7 separate regions of the Homo sapiens genome follow, and all the other regions are linked to region 2. Evidence: promoter capture Hi-C in 16 types of primary human blood cells and fetal thymus (Javierre and others, 2016). All regions are on one chromosome and are shown on one strand. Each heading gives the region's core, a stretch centred on a gene start or on the middle of the fragment in contact. The rest is flanking DNA. Distances are from core to core; before and after follow the strand shown. Region 1 has its middle 60 kb from the start of LINC01038. Region 2 holds the start of SPRY2 (sprouty RTK signaling antagonist 2). Region 3 has its middle 120 kb from the start of LINC01038. Region 4 has its middle 46 kb from the start of LINC00377. Region 5 has its middle 81 kb from the start of LINC01038. Region 6 has its middle 67 kb from the start of LINC00377. Region 7 has its middle 97 kb from the start of LINC01038.

Region 1 (2,700 bases), core at 70-2,569, 600 kb after region 2:
CTCCAGCCACATGGAATAGGATGGGGAGGGGTTTGGAAAAGAAAATGTGAAGACAAATGGGGATTTTTAAAAGCAGAAAAGAAAATCTAGTGCTCAGAACAGCATTCTTTAACTTAGTCTAGCTATAAATTTTGTCTCTTGTTGATTTCCTGACTTGGAAAGAACCCATTAATGAAAGGAAAACACACACACACACACACACACACACACACACACACACACACAGAGGCTGGAAGCTCAACTGTGACTTTTTAAAATGGTAAACCTAGTACCATTCATACCTGTAAGATGTGAAAGGAAGATTTGAAAAAACCTCATTTTGTCATTTTACCAAAGGCCTTGAGCAACCTATTCAAAAGATACAAAAATAAATTTAAAATCTGGGTGGAGGCTGCAGAAGTGCTTCCCTTGCCTTTTTCTCCCGCTTGCTTTACCAGTGGAGCCTGAAGCTTCTCAGTTCATTGTCACGTTTACCTCCATCCTTTCTCTGCCAAGAATCTGATGGTTGAGTTTTCAGTTAGTTTGGGAGTAAGGTAGATCCTTGTTGTAACTTGCTGAGACTCATCCAACTAGATTTCTGGGAGGGAAATTGATTCCTTTTCCTCGCTGAGGGGTATAACAACAGGCCAACAATGTCTACGCTCCATGTAGATAGACACTCACTAGACCATGGATTGACCTCCTTATCAATCAATGTACAAATTAGTTGGAGGTGAAAAATGTAAGCAGAGGTCTGCAAGGAATAAGGTCTTCGTAGGCTGGTCCTTTCTGCAGATTCCTGGGAGGGCTTCTGATGTTTCCAAGCTGCTGCTTATCTGAGGCTCTTGACTTCCACAGTCCTGAAGGGCAGACCCAAGAAGAGGGGGCTTTCCCTAAGTGTTCCACAGACCCTCAGAAACTTCTAGCCGAAGCTCACATTCAAAGTCCTTAGACTAGTCTTCAGAGGTACCTGTGCAGAGTCTCTTAGGAACATAAATCTGAATAGCATCATAATTGATGGTCTCCTAGCCCTTCTTTCAGCACCCTAGACTTAGGCAGGAGGGACATTGCGCTACTAACTCTTCCTTGGCTGAAGATGAGTAGCCACAGTCCCCAAAAGAGTTATTTCCATGGCTTCTTGGTGATAAAGTGAGGGGAAGAATGAGCCCAGGATAACCCTCATATGTCAATTGGAGCTCCATGTTCTGTGTAAATGTCCTCTTTCTGGCATGTTTGTCCCTGACTGAGTGCCAATTTCCACTCTCTCACTCCTTTCAACCTCACTGTCTTCAATGCAACACCTTCCCACTCCTGAAGACTCATGTTTGATTTTGTCGCTAGTACTAGTTTACTATTATTAACCTTTTTATTTCATCTGCAGTGGCAAAATATAATTGTCATAACTTAACATGACCCATACAAATACACGATGAACATGTTCAAAGTGTATTCAACTCATTTATTAATGAGGGAACCAGTAGATATAAAGTTATTTCAAACAAAACATTTTGAGAAACTATTTATAGGCAATTTTAAAAATAATAATATTAGAGTAAGATTATTGTCCGTTTAAACACAAAACAACTTAGTGTCCTACCAGGCAATAAACTGTTGCTTATCTTTTTTACCACACAGAAACTATTCACATCTCTATTGAACAAAAACTACTAGTAAAGACATAACTCCACAGTGTATGTGCACTAATCAACAGTAAATGGCAAAGTCAAACAGTGGTACATCAGCCTACAAAATCAAATAATTTAAAGGTGTGCCTAAAATATACACTAAAAGATAATGCAGCTATCCTCTGGACCTTATTTATAGGTTTTAGATAATTTTTCTTTATAGCAGGAATGCAAGTCTAATACTATGCTGTTATTCCAATCTAGTTTATAAATTTCTGACAATATTTAAGAAGTCTCATTAGAATGCATTTGTCATTAGTTGAGGTATCAGTGCATCATATGTACTTGTTAGCAGAAAAGAAGAAGGAAAAATGTTTATCTGAAAGTATTTGCTAAAAGGCTCATCCATCATGCCAGGCACTAGGACTCATTAGCCGGAGCCCTCAGGGAAGATCATTAAGACAGAAAAGCTGAGTAATCAGGAACCATTGCTGATACGATCATGGCAAGGTAGAGATTGGGAAACTGATTTAAAAATTGAGATCAAGGAGCATGCAGAGTGGAAAGCCAGAAAGCAAAGCTTGAGGCTAGAGCAAGTCAGATGTCAATAGCCAAGATCTTAATGAGCTACAGGCCTCATAGGTCAGGACAGATGAGGTAGGCAGATGGACAGGGTCAGAGCACTCAGATAGCCTACATCAGGGGCACGCTTCCCAGAAAGCTTTGGCCTCAGATTACACTTGACACTCCCTATCTACCCACACTAGAAAGGTTGCCTAACCCTGGGGCAGAGGGCTCCATCCCAGGGTCAAATATTGCCCAGCTATGTGGGCTCTTCCACTGCTTCCATTGTTTAAAAACTAGAGATACCTTTCAACAGCAAAAAAAGTGTATCTATATATAAGAATATTTCTATATTCAAGGGGCTAAATGCCTCCAGATATTGATTTCTGATTTCTGAATCATTCCTAAGTTGTTATATCTTTGCCATTTAATGGCAAGATGTGTATTATTGATGTATCTCCCTGATATCAGGGAAAGTGTAATTCATATTATTGCATGAACAAGAATCCTAAATCTCTTTTGCCTGTAGTAA
Region 2 (2,700 bases), core at 76-2,575:
CTCCCACGTGAAGGCACATTTCTTAGTAAATGAACGGCAGCTAGGACAGTGCATATGTATGCATTTTCTATCTTTATTTTTTTTTTGTAAATGGGAAAGAATAGTGCACCTTCAACATGGACAACAGAATCTTGAGAAATGTTCTAGGTGGCAAGAAAAGTGGGAAATGAAGGATGACTTTTAGTTAAGGGAAGAAGGAAATCTGCAGTGAGCCAACCCTTCCCTCCCCCCCGCCCCCCCATTTCGGAAGCCCATGCTGTCGCCCTGAGTAATCTTGTTCCTGTCTATTAATGAATTAAGTTAAAAGGCTTAGACTGTAGACTTTAGCTACTGCATGAAGCAAAATAGTAAGGAAGCTCTTCAAAAAGCCTCCATTCATAGATAACCCCCCTTAAAAATGAAATTCTAATAAACGGAAAAACTACAAGTCGACACAATCAAAAGCAAATCCCAGCAAGAGCAGAAGGTACTTGAAACTCGAATCTGCATTCCGTTCCTCCCGTACAAGGCTCGGAGGTGGGGGAGGCGGTTTGTGCTGGTGCCTGGTGTATAATCGGGTTAATCCAGTAGACAAAGAATAAACCAATAGCCCTCCCACCTCACTTCCCGCTCCCCTTCCCCTCCCCCTTCTTCTCCCCCCGCCCCAGCCCCCGTCACCCGCTCCGCAAAGGGGAACAGAAAAGGGGAGAGGTAGACTTGAAATGGATTCTGGATAAAGTCTTAAAACCTGCAACTTGTTTTTCATGCTAACACTGCGTGGCCCAGATTAGTCTTAAATGTTCATTCCCCTTTCCTGGTGGCAAGGAGAAAGTTCCCTAAGTCAGCTCGAGCCTCTGGCTCGTCCTCATTGCCTCTGGGCAAACCTTAAGGTCAGTGTTTCCTTGAAACTAGATAAACTGACCCTGCAGTGCCCAGCCCGGCCCCGCGGGCGCCCCGCGTGACGGCGCTCGGGCGGCAGGACCGGCCTGGGGACGCGCGGGGCGGCGCGGTTGCCCTTTTGAATGCCTCCTGCGGCTCGGAGCGCTGGCGGGCGCTGGAGTGTGAGTGAATGTAGCCCCGCGGAGCCAATGAGCTGGGACCGGATGCGATATATCCTCTGGGACAACAACTGCTCTGTTCCGCCTCGGATCCACATGACGCCATTTACTGCTGCCGCGGCCGCCGCAGAGCTCCCTGCCTCCTCCGGAAAGGCGAGGGCGCAGGCCAACGGCGAGCCCCCCCCGGGCGGGCCCCAGACCCTCCTCCTCCTCCTCCTCCTCCTCTTCCTCCTCCTCCGCACCCACCGCCCCCGCCTCGGCCTCGCTGCCTCGCCTCCACAACGCCCAGTCTGCACCGCCGAGAGCTGCGCGCCGCAGCGCTAGCGGAGGAGAGGGGCCGGCGGAGCGCGCAGCGCCCAGGCCCCCGCGCCCGCCCGGCCCGGCCCGGCCCGCGCCCCCGCGCCGCCTCCGCTACGACGCGGCCCCGGCCGCACCACTTGGCGATCTGGCTTTAGGTTCTCCGTAAGGCCGTTTTCTTTTCCCATTCGCTCATCTGCCAGGAAAAGGGACTTGCCGTTGGCGCTTCGGCCTCTTGTTCATTGAGAAAAAAGAGGAAATACTCCGCGTGCGCTTGTAGAAGGGGAGTCGTCTCCAGCTCCGAACCCCGGAGTGTTCATCAGCGGGGAATCTGGCTCCGAATTCTCTTTTTTTCTCCCGCCGATTGCTCGGAAGTTGGTCTAAAGCAGAGGTTGGAAAGAAAGGAAAAAAGTTTGCATCGAGACTGGATTTATTTGCACATCGCAGAAAGAAGAGAATCCAAGGGAGAGGGGTTGGTGCAAAGCCGCGATCACGGTGAGGCACGTTTGGCTCTTCCCCTCCTGGCGCCGCGGCCGGCGCGTTGTGGGCAACATGGAGTAGGTGCAGCCGGACCAGGAGTTGGGTCCGTCTCTCCCCGAGCCTCCCTTTCTCAAATCCCGCAGGGTCTTCGCGAGGATCCGGGGCGCTCCCCGCGGACCTGCCTCGCCCGGGGCTTGGGCTCGGCCTGCCTCTGCGGGGACTTCTGTATGCACCCCGTGCAGTGTCCCCGACAGGCGACCCCGCGCGCCCGCGCTCTAGGGGGTTGGGACGGAGGACAGCTAGCCTGAAGTCTGCTCCCAGCCGTGCACTGGCCGCGAATTCGGCGCTGAGAGCGGGAGAGGGAGAGAAAAACACTTTGTATTTTCCAGGTTGCCTTTGCAGGCGCCCGCATTTCTAACCTGTTCTTCCTCTTGGTGGAAGGCAAAGTCCAGGGAGAGGCTGTCCCTAGGCGGGGCGCTGGTGGGGCTGGGGGACACAGGTTGCCCGCCTCGGGGGCAGGAGACTTCCAGGGTGAGAAAAAGGCAGGGTGCCGGGTGGAGGGAGTGCCCGCCTCTGCTCCGTGTGGACAGTCTAGCCCGGAGCGGGTGGGAGCGTCGCCCTGCCTGGCGCCGGGTCTCTGCGGTTCGGAAGTGCAGCTCTCTCTCTTCCGTTCTTCGTGGTCAGCCTGGGTCACACTTATTTTATTTTTGGAAGCTCGGGCTGACCCAGCGCAGGAAGAAAGTCATCAAGCGGTCGCGATCATTTTCCATTACCTGAAAGTAGGTGGCAAAATAGGCAATTTTTTATTTCCTTTTGTTGTTGTTGTTGCTGTGTTTTAATTTGGATTCTTGTGTGTTTTTTACAAAGCAGTTTCTGTGTCCGTTTG
Region 3 (2,700 bases), core at 24-2,523, 650 kb after region 2:
AAAAACTAAGTCAAACCATCATATGTCGGGGACTGTCTGTATATACAAAACCCTGACAAATCCCCCCCAAAAAAAAAAAGAAAAAAACACTTTTAGGATTAACAAATTAAGTTAAATTGCAGAACATCAAATCAACATACAAAAGTCAGCAGCATTCTATACACTAACAATGAACTATCCAAAAAATAAATTTAAAAAAAATCCCATTAACAATAGCATTAAAAAATACTTAGGAGTAAATTTAACCAAGGAGTTGAAAAATCTATACGCTGAAAACTAGAAAATATTAATGAAAAATTTGAAGAAAACACAAAATAATGCAAAGATATCCCTTGCTCATGTTTTGGGAGATTCAAATGTCCCAAATCTCCCATCTTAAATTGGTGATGTTAAAATGTCCATACTACCCAAAGCAATCTACAGATTCAGTGCAATCCTCACCAAAATTTCAATGCCATTTTTACAGAAATGAAAAAAAAAAGATTCCAAAATTTGTATGGAGCCACAAAAGACCTCAAATAGCCAAAATGTGGAAGCAACCTAAGTGTCCATCAATAAATGAATGCATAAAGGAAATGTGAATATATATAACAAAGAAATACTAGTCTTTTTTAAAAAAAATGTCATTTGAGAAAACATGAATGAACCTAGAGGATATTATGTTAAGTGAAATTAGCCCGGTACAAAAAGACAAATGCTGTATGATTTCACCCATATGTAAAACCTGGAAGTCAACATCATGGGAGAGTAGAATGGTGGTTACCACAGGCCCAGGGTAGGTGCAGGTTGGGAGCTAATAGGGAAAAGGGGAGACATTGGTCAAAAGATACAAAGTTTCAGTTATACAGGAGGTAGATAATTATATAACATATGCTGTGTATAACACAGAGGGGTGACCATAATTAATAATGTATTGCGTATTTCAAAATAGCTGAAAGATAGATTTTAAATGTTCTCACCACAAAAAGTAATGATAATAAGTAGGGGAGGTAATGGATATGCTAATTAGCTTGGCCTAATCATTCCATAATATATACATATATTGAAACATCACATTGTACCCCATAAATGTATAAAATTATTATTGGTCATTAAAAAAATAAACAAGCTGGAAGCAGTGGTTCATATCTGTAATCCCAGCACTTTGAGAAGCCAAGGTGGGACGATCGCTTGAGGCCAAGATCTCAAGACCAGTCCGGGCAACAAGGTAAGACTCCATTACTCAAAAAGGTAGCCAGGCATGGTGGTGTGCACTTGTGGACCCAGCTACCCAGACGGCTGATGTGAGAGGGTCACTTGAGCCCAGGACTTTGAGGCTTCAGTGAGCCACGATCATAACACTGCACTCCAGCCTGGATGACAAAGTGAGATCTCAACTCTAAAAAAACAAAAAAGAAATAAAAGCACTCTTTAAAACATCAGAATTGAAAAACAATTATTGGAATAGTCTTCTAATTAATTGCCCTATATTCCAGTTCTGGACTATACCCATAATTCATCTTAGACACTGCTTCCAAAAAATGTTCTAAAATTAAAATCTTCACACTAAAAATCCCTCAGTGTCTTCTAAATAACTTCAGAGGAATTCCAAACTCCTTAGCATAGACTATAAGGATGTTTGTGATATTATCACTGTCTGCCTCTCCATCCTCATTTCCCTCCATGCTACCACACACTCTCAGAACTTCTTCCATACACAGATATTTCACAGGTTTTCCAAATATGCAGGTCCTTAAGTAACCACCTACAGCGTGTTTGCCTATTTAGGGTGTCATTAGAAAACAGATTCCTGCTCTCAAAAAATTGTCATGAAACTGTCATGCTTTATCCACTGGTAGCCTATTTCTTACTTCTCTCTCTCCCTACCTTTCATTCATTACCCCAACTTCTTTTCTTTATGCTGAATCTTGGGTTCCTTTTCCATTCATGTTTTAATTTCACACTTATATCTAGAATAGTGACTAATCCTATTTCTCCTAACTGTAGTCTGACTTTACTTGACCTTATCCCTCAATTTTGTATTCCTACTAATGTCTTTCAGCCTCCCCCATACCAATGTCTCCTCTCTCTGGTCTTTTGAAAGACCATCAGACATCTGACATTTCTCCAAGTCTGTCCACAGTGGAAGCCTTGTCCATGTTCCCCACCTTGCTGGGGTTGAGAAGAAGACTTGAGCATTTGCTTCTTTAAACTCCCATTCCAGTGTCCATACTCTTCACTCCATTTGGAATGTCTTCTTTCTATTTTACCTAGAAATGTCTACTCATCTTTAAATCCCAGCTCAAATATTACCACCTCTGCAAGATTTTTCTTGATCCTCAAAGCAGAGTTCTATCTTCTCCATGATCTCATAGCATCTTTTAAATACTCCTATTTATCACTAATGTCATTATATTTTTAACATTTTGTTTGCTGTTTATCTCCTTCTAGAGAGTAAGATCTTTAAGGACAGAAAATATTCTTCCTTATTCTTGTATCTGTGGTTCCTAGCACAATGCAGCTGTGTTTCTTAAATAACTCAACAGATAAAATCATTCTCATAAAAAATATAGTTGAGGAAGAACAAAAACAGTAGGATACAGATTGGTAGCATTAAATGCTCACAAATAGGCTAAACTGGGTCAAAAGACCTGACTCTGTCACTAACTCCAGGAGCAATGAGAAAGCATTTTATTTTTTTATTTTTATTATTTATTTCTT
Region 4 (2,940 bases), core at 130-2,629, 630 kb before region 2:
GGGCGCCTATAATCCCATCTACTCTGGAGGCTGAGGGAGGAGAATTGCTTGAACCTGGGTGGCAGAGGTTTCAGTGAGCCAAGATTGCATCATTGCACTCCAGCCTGGGTGACAAGAGTGAAACTCTGTCTCAAAAAAAAAAAAAAAACTTAAAGATTTAATAAAATGATAGATTATATAACAATAGCCAACTCCAACAGTGCCAGTTTTTATATTACCTAATTGAATCTTCACAATAATCCTATGAAGTAGGAAATAAGGAATATAGGGAAACAAAGGATTAGTAAGCCTAAGTCATTTCCCTGAGTTTACACAGCTGATAAGTTATATAACCTGTAAGTCACATAACTCATTCTTGAGCACAATTAAGCCATGAACAAATATATAATTGAATGAAGATCTATGCTAATCAAAACAAAAAAACTGCCAAATCTCCTCTTTTTTTAACAGGGTACATGTATACATTGATTTTTAAAAATAGATTTAAAATACCCACTACTTTAAAAGAGTATATTTCATGTCCAGAGTGATGGTTTCAAAATGCAGAACCCTAGCCGTCATGTTGTCTCTCTAACTGACAGTTGCCAGGAGTAATAATATAAATTCAACACAGTGAAAGACAAAAATGCGTCATGCCATTAAGGAGATGATTTTACTCAGGTCATTGCAACAGAGAGATTCTTCATTAATGGGGAACATCTCAAGGAAGAGATTGAAAACCTGGGATATTATAAAACAAAGGAATCACAAGCAAGATGGATAGAAATCGTATCTGAGTCACTTAAGAATATTGAAGTATATGTGGGAATACAGTAGTTCTTTGGGATAAGACATTTTGGAACACAAAAGGTGGAAGGGTGGGGGAATTTATCATCTTTGCTGTTTTCCAACGGCAAGGGCTCAGGCAAACTCCAACATGGTCAACACATTAACATAATCTTTCTGAACATTAATTTGTTCTAGATTTGCTTCTATATTTCCTCATATTTTAGCAACTGACCTGAAAAGCAATTGTTCACTGCATATTTTAAAATACTAAAATTTTGCTAAATTAATTTACCAATAGCACAATTTTTTACAAATAGGCTTTTTTTCTATATCACCCCCAAATTATTTAAATGTGTACTATAAGTTGAGCATACCTAATCCAAAAATCTGAAATCCAAAATGCTCTCAAATTTGAAACTTTTGAGCACCAACATGATGCCACAAGTGGAAAATTTTACGCCTGTCATTATGTGATGAGTTGCAGTCAAAATGCAGGTGCATACCACAAAGTTTACTTAGTATCCTGAAGGGGTAAAAATAATCTTTCCAGCCTTCTTCATCTGTGATATATCTTTTCCACACACACCCGGATTCCCCCATGAAGGAGACACACAAAGGGTAATAAAATGCCATGTGTGCAGGGTGAATATGTCAATGGCAGCCTCCACACGATGCCCCACATGGGGCCAAGATCCATGTGCATTACTCACTGCTCTTGCTTATTTTCTGCTGTATGGTGTTGAAAATGACTTTGTTGAAAATGTCCAAAGGGCCTGGATGATGCCCCTGTGGGTAACAGTGATAAGGAAAAGGATGAGTTTATGCTCACAGAAAGTAAAGCTGTTGGAGAAACTGGACAGCAGTGTGCACGTAAAACAACTTACAGAAAATTATGATGTCAGCATAACCACTACATGTGACCTAAGGAAACAGAAGGATAAACTGTCAAAGTTCTAGGATGAAATTGATGAACAGAAGTTAATGAAAAATAGGCCAGGCACAGGGGTTCACGCCTGTAATCCCAGCACTTTGGGAGGCTGAGGCAAGTGGATCACTTGAGATCAGGAGTTCAAAACCAGCCTGGCCAACATGGTGAAACACCATCTCTACAAAAAATACAAAATTAGCTGTGGTGGTGCACGCCTCTAATCCCAGCTACTAGGGAGGCTGAGATACGAAAATCCCTTGAACCCAGGAGGTGGAGGTCGCAGTGAGCTGAGATTGTGCTATTGCACTCCAGCCTGGGCAACAGAGCAAGGCTCTGTCTAAAAAAAAAAGTTAAGGAAAAATAGAAAAAAACTACTACATAAAGCTAAAAAATGAGATCAAGTATTAGAGGAGTACATCCATCAGTGTGGCAGTAAACACATACAACTTAATGGTATGCTGATCATGAAACAAGCAAAGGTCTATCACAATGAACTGAAAATTGAAGGAAACTATAAATACTCAACAGGCTAGTTGCAAACATTTAAGAAAAAAACACGGCATTACATTTTTAGATATTTGTGATAATAAAGCATCTGCTGATCATGAAGCGGCAGAAAAACTCATTGATTTGCCAAAGTAACTGCTGATAAAAATATGACACAAGACCAAGTAAATAACGCTGATGAAACATCACTGTTTTTGTGTTCTTGCCCCAGAAAGACATTTACTACAGCTGATGAGACACCCGCTACAGGAATTAAGACTGCTAAGGATAGAATAACTGTACTGGGATGTGCTAATGCAGCAGGCAAGCATAAGTGTAAATTAGCTGTGATCGGGGAAATCTTGCATCCTTGCTTTTTTCAAGTAGTAAGTTTCCTACCACTTCATTATTATGAGAGATTTTGTTATTCCTTGACAAATTTGTCTGCTCATCCTCTAGCTGAAATACTCATTACAAGTTATACTTCCAAATGTGAATTCATTCATCCAACCATGTAACCAAGATATCTATAATCAATAACAAGTAAATATAAAAACCCCTTCTTGAGCAGCATGCTAGCAGTAATGAACAAAGGCAAGGGTGCAGAAGGCTTTCAAAGAAGTCAGCATTGTATTCATCAGAGTTCATATACATATATATATGAAAGAGTACTTATGAGAAGAGTTGGCTTATGTGATTACGGAAGCTGAGAAGTCACATGACAAGCTTTCTGCAAGCTGGAGACCCCAGGATGTTAA
Region 5 (2,763 bases), core at 166-2,665, 620 kb after region 2:
CTTGCAACACATCTTTAATCAATTACAAGCCTACTAGTACTTAACTCATACTCATCTCCAGTTTTACCTGTGAATTTTGATTAGACTTTCTGGGCATTTCAAAGCCCATATAATCAAAGGGGATAACAAATTATGAACATCTAGTCTTATTTACTACTTTCCTGTCACTCCTATAATAATTTTTGGTTTCAGTCTTCAACGTCTAGGATAATTGTTCAATAATTTCCCCCTTCTTTCTAGTACATTTAGAGTTCATTCTGAGTGCACGCTATTCCCTCCCCCCTTTAAGGAATAACAAGAATGTTCATATCTTGTTTTAACAAGTGGATGATCTGCCTCAGCTTCAGAGTCAGAACTTCACACTATTAAAAGGAGAGCTTTATGTTTAACTTTTTGCCCTGTGAGAAAAGCAGGATATGTCAAGCCTCTACTTAAGTTTTTTTCTTTTGTCCTTATGAGTCCTCTCATGAGCTAATTTCTTTCATAGACTATATAAGCCCTTAAAGAGCAGCACTGTTCCCTGACAAACACACTGGCATGCAGTTAATCATTAATTTTGCAAGGTCCACATCTGCTGTCTTCTGGACTCTATATTGTTTGAGAGATTTCCTCCCATTCCTGTAAATGTAATTGTGTGAGGGCTAATGTTGGATCTTTATCTAACCTATTATCAGCAGTCCAGACAGAGTCTTAGAACCTTCCTTTAACAAGTCCAAGTTAGAGTTCACAAAGCTTAAACCTACATGAATAGAGTAGTATTTTTTTAATGGCAAAACAACAGCTGCAGGGGCTGATTCAATGACACGCCCTGGCTGAGTATGTGCAGATACTAAAAACAGGTGCAACTCATGACTGTTGTGCTGTGTGCCTTTTTAAAATATTACATGCATTTCTTCATCAGATCAAGGTTTATATAAAGTATGTTTTAGAGGGGCATAAAGGAATTCAGAAACATGGTCAGCTGAAATACTAAGGCTTTTAAAAAACAATAAAGGTAGAACAAATTAGAGTTATGTTAATGCTGGTAAGCGTACTACCTCATGAAAATCCAAGAATCCAGCCATCTGCATAATAAAAATGCCTTTTAAATGGCAAGCAAATTAAATTATAATATCTTTTTTTTCTTTCTTGGACTTGATCTGGGGTTCCAGCTTCATACCACTTGGGGAAAAGTTGAAATTAGGCTTTGTGTGGGTGGAGGAGAGGCAGAATTGAATGTGATCCTGTGCAAATAATCTCTTCCAGCCTTGCTGTAGGGTGGGACATGAAGACTGGAAAGAGTGAGGCTCCAAACCCCTGGCGTAGAGGCAACACCTTCTGTGGCCATGCTGCCAGGAAGGCTCCAAAGGGAGTGCCCAATAAATGTCAGTGTTGTGTGGCTATTTCAACTTTAAAGTAACTTGCACAAGTTCACTTGAAATTAACACTGCAGTCATACAGAAGGGGGAAAGGAGTGTGTGTTGTTTCCAGACATAATTGAGATTGAACTCTAACCAATTCAGAAACAAGCGTTACTTTCCGCAGCTCTAGAGAAGCCAGCTTCCCTCTGCCAGAAGGGAAGTATTGCAATCGTCATGAACACAAAGCGTTCTGTATGCAGCTTGCAGAGAGAAGCAGCCCTGTCATTCAGGCTGGCCATTCATCTTTGTGTGTCCTTACGGCAGAGGTAGTGTGAAAAGGAGTTTACTCCCCTTAAAACACGAGTGGTGCTTCTGGGGTCTGCAGAGCCTCCCACATCAGCTGTGTTTGAGGCATTCCTGACATGGAAAAGAGCCCAAAGATCACTTTCAACCTGCTACATAATCATCATTAATGCTGGCCCCTTCCCAAGAGCTCTGAGCATTTACCTGCCTCATACAGAGCCCTACTTTTCCCCAGGTTTCATAGTGAGGTCAACAGGGGCCCATTGAGGAAATCAGAAACAACCTCAAGAGACATTATTCAGACCCACCAGAACTCCTGACATGTGAAAGCTCTCCTTGGAGGCCTGCCACTGCCTGAAGAAACAGCCTAGATTTGGAGACTGAGAATACTCAAGTTATGTAAAGGTTGAATAAAAATAACAATTCTGATGCTACTTTTTTATTATAGAAGCTTCACATTTCATCTCTTGCAAGTAAGCTCCTGAGATGGGAGGGAGACTGTATTGCTGACTCACTAGCTTCTGCACCTCTTGGGTTTCTATCTTTAGTGGAGAGCCTGGTCTTTGACATGGAGTTAAGTAAGATATAACAAATGAGTGGAGCAGTCACTGAAATAAGTTTGTTAGGCATAATGGTAACGTTTTGAAACTATGACAATTCTTAATGACATAGTTTTTTGTTAAGTAAAATTTTGGAGTTGCAAGCAATGGAGTGAAGGACTTTGGTTATTTCAATAATAAAAGAACCCTCCTTCCAACTATGTTAGCAAGAGGAAGAACTGAAGGTTTACTAGTAAATGCAATTGTCAAAAACATAATCAGTGCAAACTCAAATGTTCTAAATGTCTTTAGCTAAAATGTGTAAATAACTTATAAAACATAAATACAGATAGAGGCAGGTAACAGCGGAATCATGTTCATTTGTCAGAAGAGCAGCAGTGAGAAGTTGGGTTGGGACTGACACATGAAGCATGAAGGCCTCCTTGGTTTACCTGAGGGAAAGAAGTTGTCAGAAGCAAGTCAACTGTCACAAGGCTGAGAGTAAGAGAGTCCAAGCAGTATAGTAACAACAAAGAACATGGACTTTTTCATCAGACTGATTTGCAATTCAAACCTGGCTT
Region 6 (2,742 bases), core at 221-2,720, 610 kb before region 2:
ATTTATACTTTGTCACTTTTGTCTACTTGATCTATCTAAATAATGTACATTACCCTCCTGGATACAACTGCAAATCCATCAACTTCTACTTTTTTAAACTTTTTCTTTTGTGATAATTATAGTTTTACATTTATGATATGTTATATAGAGAGATCCTGTGTGCCTTTTACTTCATCCCTATTAATAGTAACATCTTGCAAGTCAGGATATTGACATTTACATAGTCAAGACACAGAACATTTCTATTCACACAAGCTGCCCTTTTACTGTGACACCTACTTCCCTCCTATCTTCACACCATCTTAACCCCTGGCAACTAACAATCTGTCTTGTATATCTGTCATTATTCTCATCTTAAGAATGTTATACAAATGTGACCACGTAGTATGTAACATTTTGGAGCTGACTTTTCTCACTCAATATAATTCTTTATAGATGCACCCAGGTTATCGCATTGTATTGATAATTTGTTTACTTTGATTGATGAGTAATGTTTCATGATATGCGTGTACCAGAGTTTTGGGGGTTATCTTTTAACTATTGATCTGTTGAAGGAAATCTGAATTTTTCCAGTTTTTGGCTATTATAAATAAATCTAATACAAATATTTATGTAATTTTGGGGCATAAATGTTAGTTTTTATTTCTCTGAGATAAATGCCCAAGGAAATGATTATAGGGTAATATGGTAGTTGAATGTTTAGTTTTATAAGAAACAGCCAAACTGTTATACAGAGTGGCTATACTATTTTATATTCCCACCAGCAATCTAGTTTCTTCCCATCCTCACCCACATCTGATGTCATTTTTTTTAAATTTTAGCCATTCTGATAGATATTACTTTTTACTCACTTAAAGCTTAAAGAAACAATTCACACTAAATCATTAATGAAAATTTGGAATTTGAAGTCATAAACATAAAATCTCTAAGAAATATTTTAGACAGAAATAAAAAAATATTGCTGAGTAGTGGTCACATTCAATTTAGGGAAGAAGAAGGAAGGAACCTCAAAAAGAAATGGAGAAATGACACAAAAATCAACAATTTGCCATGGAAGCAAATAAAATAGAAAGTTGCAGAAATTAGTGACTTTTATTAATTTTGTATAATGCAGACTGCTTCTGGCAGTGAAATGTGGTTTTTAATTTGCATTTCTCTACTGGCTAATGATGTTGAGCACCTTTTTACGCACTTACTAGCTATCTGTATGTGCTCTTTGCTTTAACTATGTGTCAGGTCTTTTGCCCATTTTCTACTTGATTTTTCTTTTTTATACTATTGTCTTTTGACATGTCTTTATATATTCTAGTTACTATTCTTTTGTTGGGTATATGGTTTGCAAATATTTTCTCCAAGTCTACAGCTTGTCTTTTTATCCATGTAACAGAGTCTTTGTAGAGCAAAATATTTTAATTTTGATGCACTCAATTTATCAATTTTTTTATTATGGATAATTTTGGGGGTCAAGTCTCAGAACCTTTCCCTCAGCCTAGATGATGATGACTATTTCTGTTCTTTTTTTCTAAAATTGTAATGGTTTTACATTTTACATTTAATGGTCCATTTTGAGATAAATTTAAATAAGATATGAAGTTTAGGTTGAGGTTTATTTTTTTAAAGCAAGAGGTGTACAATGGCTCCAGCATCAATAGCATGATTTTACTACCTACTTGCTCTAGATTATCAATCACATGTCCTATTCATAATATCGGTTCCTCTGTTTACATACCATATTGGCATCTATCTATATGTGTGATAGGTGTTTGAAACTCAAATTTTCAAACTTATATTAATAATTTCCACTCCAAACTCAGTTTTTTCTATATTTCTTATTGAGATTTTTGAGCCAAATATCCTCCAAGCAAATGGAATTACAATGTGGAAGGTAGCCTATGTATTTTTTTCAACTGTCCTGCTACCAATATTTTATGTGACATTTCCTATGGATTCTAATTCCAAAATAGCTCTTGAATCCATCTCTTTCTACTCATTTCTGCTTCCACTTTCATAATACATACATTATCTCAATTTCTGAATAGTCTTTTTTTTTTAAACTAGACTCATGCCAAGATACAAAGCTTCACCCTCCCAATCCAATTCTTTCCTATAAAGAGTAACCAAAGTGAGCTTCTAAGTATGCCTTTTTTTTAACCTTGACCTTTCCTTTCTTTTCAGTTTTATCTCTGGCTCTTTCTTAAACTTAGCTCACATTCTGCACATTTTAAGTTACTTGGTTCCGCTATACACCTTGTGATCTTCTGCAGGTCTGCATGTTTGCAAACATTATTTACTCTCCTTTCTATGTGGAAATCATTCTTTTGGATTCAGTTCAGCTGTATATTTTTTATCTAAATGTTTCTGATTTTCACTCTCCCTACTCTGTAATTAGAGGCATCAGAAAGAATTTACCTTTTTTTCCCTTCACCTTTTCTACCTTTTATACTCAACTGCTATGCCATTTATCACTCTAAATTGGGATTATTTGTATATATTTATTTCTCCAATACTGTGGCTTAAAAAAAAGAGACTGTCTTTTTTACATTTGTGTCCTCTGTCTCACATAGCATGAGGAAAATAGTAAGTGTTAAATAAAAGTTTATTTAATGGTAGGGACTTAATTATTTTTTATTTGTGCTGATACTAGACAGGGGTAGATCTTTCTGAAGCTATCTTTAGTGATCTGACTTGTTACTAACTGATTCCATTCATAATCTTTCCATGTTCATCACAGAGATTAAATAT
Region 7 (2,760 bases), core at 181-2,680, 630 kb after region 2:
ACAATAGTAGTGATTTTATTTTCTACCTGTCAAAGTGAGTTTATCCTAATGTTAGTTCACTGAAATCCCTTTAAATGCATGTTTTGACCCTGAACAGAAGAGCTAAGCCACATCATTAAAGTCATAAGAAAATGAGTGTGAACTAAAAAAACTGAGTATTTGTAGATGCATAGCAAGCCAGTCAGTGCTCTGTCGTGCTTGAGATTGGTCAGGCCAAATAAAACATGGCCTCATGGTTAACAGGAGAGCATGGAATCATGCAGGTCTGGGTATGAGTATTACAAAATGGCCTTGGACCAATTACAGAACTCTCTAAGCATCTGCTTTCTCATGTGCAAAATGGAGACAATAACGTCATTACCTACTCACAATAACAAGTTTATAAGATATTCTTTAAGGACCCTTACTGCAAAGTGATAGCATAATGGAAAGCAGGTCTATGAAATAAGAACATATTTGGGTTCAGGAATTGAGGTCTGTGGTTATAACATATATATTTAATATACCTTATGTGTCAGAAACTTTCTCAGCACTTATCATGCATTATACATTGAATATAAGAAGCTTATAAGGATTATTATTCTCATCCTTATTTTATAGATTAGACAACTCAGGTATGGAAAACTTGAATATTTTGCCCATGATCACATAGGTAAAGAGTAGCAGAGTCCATAGTGTGTAACCCCAGGGCCTATACTTATAAACATGACAGTATATTAATATTATATCTGGATTACCCTCAGGATGACCATGAACCTTTGTGTGAATTGAAATTTTCTTTTAAAAATAATACATAAATGCAACTTCTCTCAGTAAAACTTTTAATAAGTCTTCATGGCAGTCAAATTGAGGTTAAATTATCTGACAAGTACCTAAAATACTGTATTTTATGATTACAAGAGTGAAATATTCAGACCTTCAGACATAATTTGAAGGGATAAATACAATAGCTCCAATCCATTTTTTATCTAATCCAAAACTCATTTTTATTAGTACCATGTGCTGTCTATTATGTGATAACTATTATTGATAAATTAACTGCTAATATAGCCCCTGTTGATCATTCCAGGTCCAGTTGGCTCACTACTTCATGCAGCAAGCTACTTCAAATGATAGGTTGGCTTTAGGGGTTAAAAACATTTTTCTGATAGAAACTTATTTGACTTCCAAGCAATATATTTATATTGGACAAAACTTTCCCCATAGTCATAAACTCTGGAAAAATATAAATATAAAAACATTATTTGAAGGCACTAGGGAATAATCAAAAACAAAACTGGTGAGAGGGGACTGAAAACAAAACAGGGAACTGCACAAGGTAAAATTTACATATATATGGCTTTTCACTTAAGTCCTCTACTGCTCATTTGGCATGGACAGGCTAGAACTCAAGTAGAAAGCCATAATCTTATTAGCTTGAGAAGCTCAAAGACTGAGGTTGCCAGAGGAAGCTCAAAGATTGAGGTGGAAATCTTAGAAAGGAAGGAGCAACAGAAAGGAAATATTAAAATCTACACGTATTCACGGTGAATTCTATTAAACATCTGAAGAAGAAGCAATAGTAATATTACATAAACTCCTTCAGAAAATATAGGAGAAAACATTTCACAACTTGTTTAGGCCAGTCTACAGCCTGATATGAAAACAAGAAAAAAATTACAGACCAATATCCTTCAAGAATATAGATATACATATCTTTAAAAAAAACTGGCAAATAAAATCCAAGGATATTTAAAAGAGATAATGCATCTTGACCAAATGAAGACCATTATAGTAACACGAGTTTAGTTCAACATTCAATATACAATCATTGTTTTTTATAATATCAAAAGACCAGCAAAAGAAAATATGATCTGTGATATATACAGAGAAAGCATTTGATAAAATTGAAAATCCATTCTTGGTAAAAAGCTCTCAGCAAAACTAATAATAAACAGAAACTTTCTCAACATGACAAAGGGATTTTACAGAAAACCTAAAGCTAAAATAATAGTGAATAATAATGAAATATTTAATGTTTAAGATTGGGAAAAAAAGGAAAGAAAGGATATCTACTCTCACCACTTATTTTCAACATTTTATTGGTGGTCCTAGTCAATGTAATAAGGCAAAAAAAATTAAAAAGAAAAACTGTCTCTATTTATTGACTGTAATTTTCTACATAGAAAATTCTAAAATATCTACAAAACATCTACCATAATTAAATTTATCAAGGTCATAGGATATAAGGACAATTATAAAACCAATTGTATTTCTCTATTTTTAAACAATTGAAAAACATAATTTTTAAAGCTTCTCTCTCTCTCTCTCTCTCTCTCTCTATATATATATATATATATATATATACATACACATATATATCAGAGTATTCTTTAAAATACAATACTCAGGAATAAATTTAATAAAAAACTGTGTAAGACCTCTACACTGAAAAACAATATTGCTGAAAGAAAGTAGAGAAGACCTAAATAAATGGAGAGATAAATCATGTTCATAGATTGGAAAACTCAGTACTAGATGTCAATTTTCCCCAAATTAATCTCTACACTTCAAGCTGCTCATATCAAAATTCTGGCAGGCATTGTTAAACAGAAATGTATATAAGCTAACTCAAAATTTAAGTATGAGTACAAAGAACCTAGAATAGCAAAAACGTTTTTCGAAAAGAACAAAGATGAAAGACTCATACGACATGCCTTCAAGACTACTATAAAGCTACAATAATAAATATATGGTGGTTTAACGTGAAGATAGATCAAC

The links. Contacts are between HindIII fragments. The CHiCAGO score rates a contact against its expected background, and 5 or more counts as called.
Region 1: a contact is called between a fragment that was not itself captured here and the fragment with the promoter of SPRY2 in region 2, in 3 of 17 cell types (M1 macrophages, monocytes and M0 macrophages). The highest score is 7.2, in M1 macrophages.
Region 3: a fragment that was not itself captured here is called in contact with the fragment with the promoter of SPRY2 in region 2 in 5 of 17 cell types (M0 macrophages, M2 macrophages, neutrophils and 2 more); the score reaches 11.5 in M0 macrophages.
Region 4: a contact is called between a fragment that was not itself captured here and the fragment with the promoter of SPRY2 in region 2, in 2 of 17 cell types (endothelial precursors and M0 macrophages). The highest score is 7.3, in endothelial precursors.
Region 5: a contact is called between a fragment that was not itself captured here and the fragment with the promoter of SPRY2 in region 2, in 3 of 17 cell types (endothelial precursors, M0 macrophages and monocytes). The highest score is 7.1, in endothelial precursors.
Region 6: a contact is called between a fragment that was not itself captured here and the fragment with the promoter of SPRY2 in region 2, in 3 of 17 cell types (endothelial precursors, megakaryocytes and erythroblasts). The highest score is 9.6, in endothelial precursors.
Region 7: a contact is called between a fragment that was not itself captured here and the fragment with the promoter of SPRY2 in region 2, in 1 of 17 cell types (M0 macrophages). The highest score is 5.6, in M0 macrophages.

Annotation. Positions count from the first base shown.
Region 1 is chr13:79,742,558-79,745,257 of GRCh38, reverse strand. No RefSeq gene overlaps it. Among named protein-coding and RNA genes, the nearest start is that of LINC01038, 60 kb to the left of the region's middle. The HindIII fragment of the contact is 1,735 bases long and covers 452-2,186 here.
Region 2 is chr13:80,339,751-80,342,450 of GRCh38, reverse strand. SPRY2 (sprouty RTK signaling antagonist 2) reads left to right here and starts at 1,325. Exons shown (of 2, transcript NM_005842.4): 1 at 1,325-1,829. RefSeq lists silencers at 908-957, 1,188-1,377. The HindIII fragment of the contact is 9,098 bases long and covers 1-2,700 here.
Region 3 is chr13:79,687,506-79,690,205 of GRCh38, reverse strand. No RefSeq gene overlaps it. Among named protein-coding and RNA genes, the nearest start is that of LINC01038, 120 kb to the left of the region's middle. The HindIII fragment of the contact is 9,076 bases long and covers 1-2,700 here.
Region 4 is chr13:80,970,630-80,973,569 of GRCh38, reverse strand. No RefSeq gene overlaps it. Among named protein-coding and RNA genes, the nearest start is that of LINC00377, 46 kb to the left of the region's middle. The HindIII fragment of the contact is 3,063 bases long and covers 1-2,910 here.
Region 5 is chr13:79,722,461-79,725,223 of GRCh38, reverse strand. No RefSeq gene overlaps it. Among named protein-coding and RNA genes, the nearest start is that of LINC01038, 81 kb to the left of the region's middle. The HindIII fragment of the contact is 1,362 bases long and covers 735-2,096 here.
Region 6 is chr13:80,949,903-80,952,644 of GRCh38, reverse strand. No RefSeq gene overlaps it. Among named protein-coding and RNA genes, the nearest start is that of LINC00377, 67 kb to the left of the region's middle. The HindIII fragment of the contact is 1,221 bases long and covers 860-2,080 here.
Region 7 is chr13:79,705,617-79,708,376 of GRCh38, reverse strand. No RefSeq gene overlaps it. Among named protein-coding and RNA genes, the nearest start is that of LINC01038, 97 kb to the left of the region's middle. The HindIII fragment of the contact is 1,728 bases long and covers 567-2,294 here.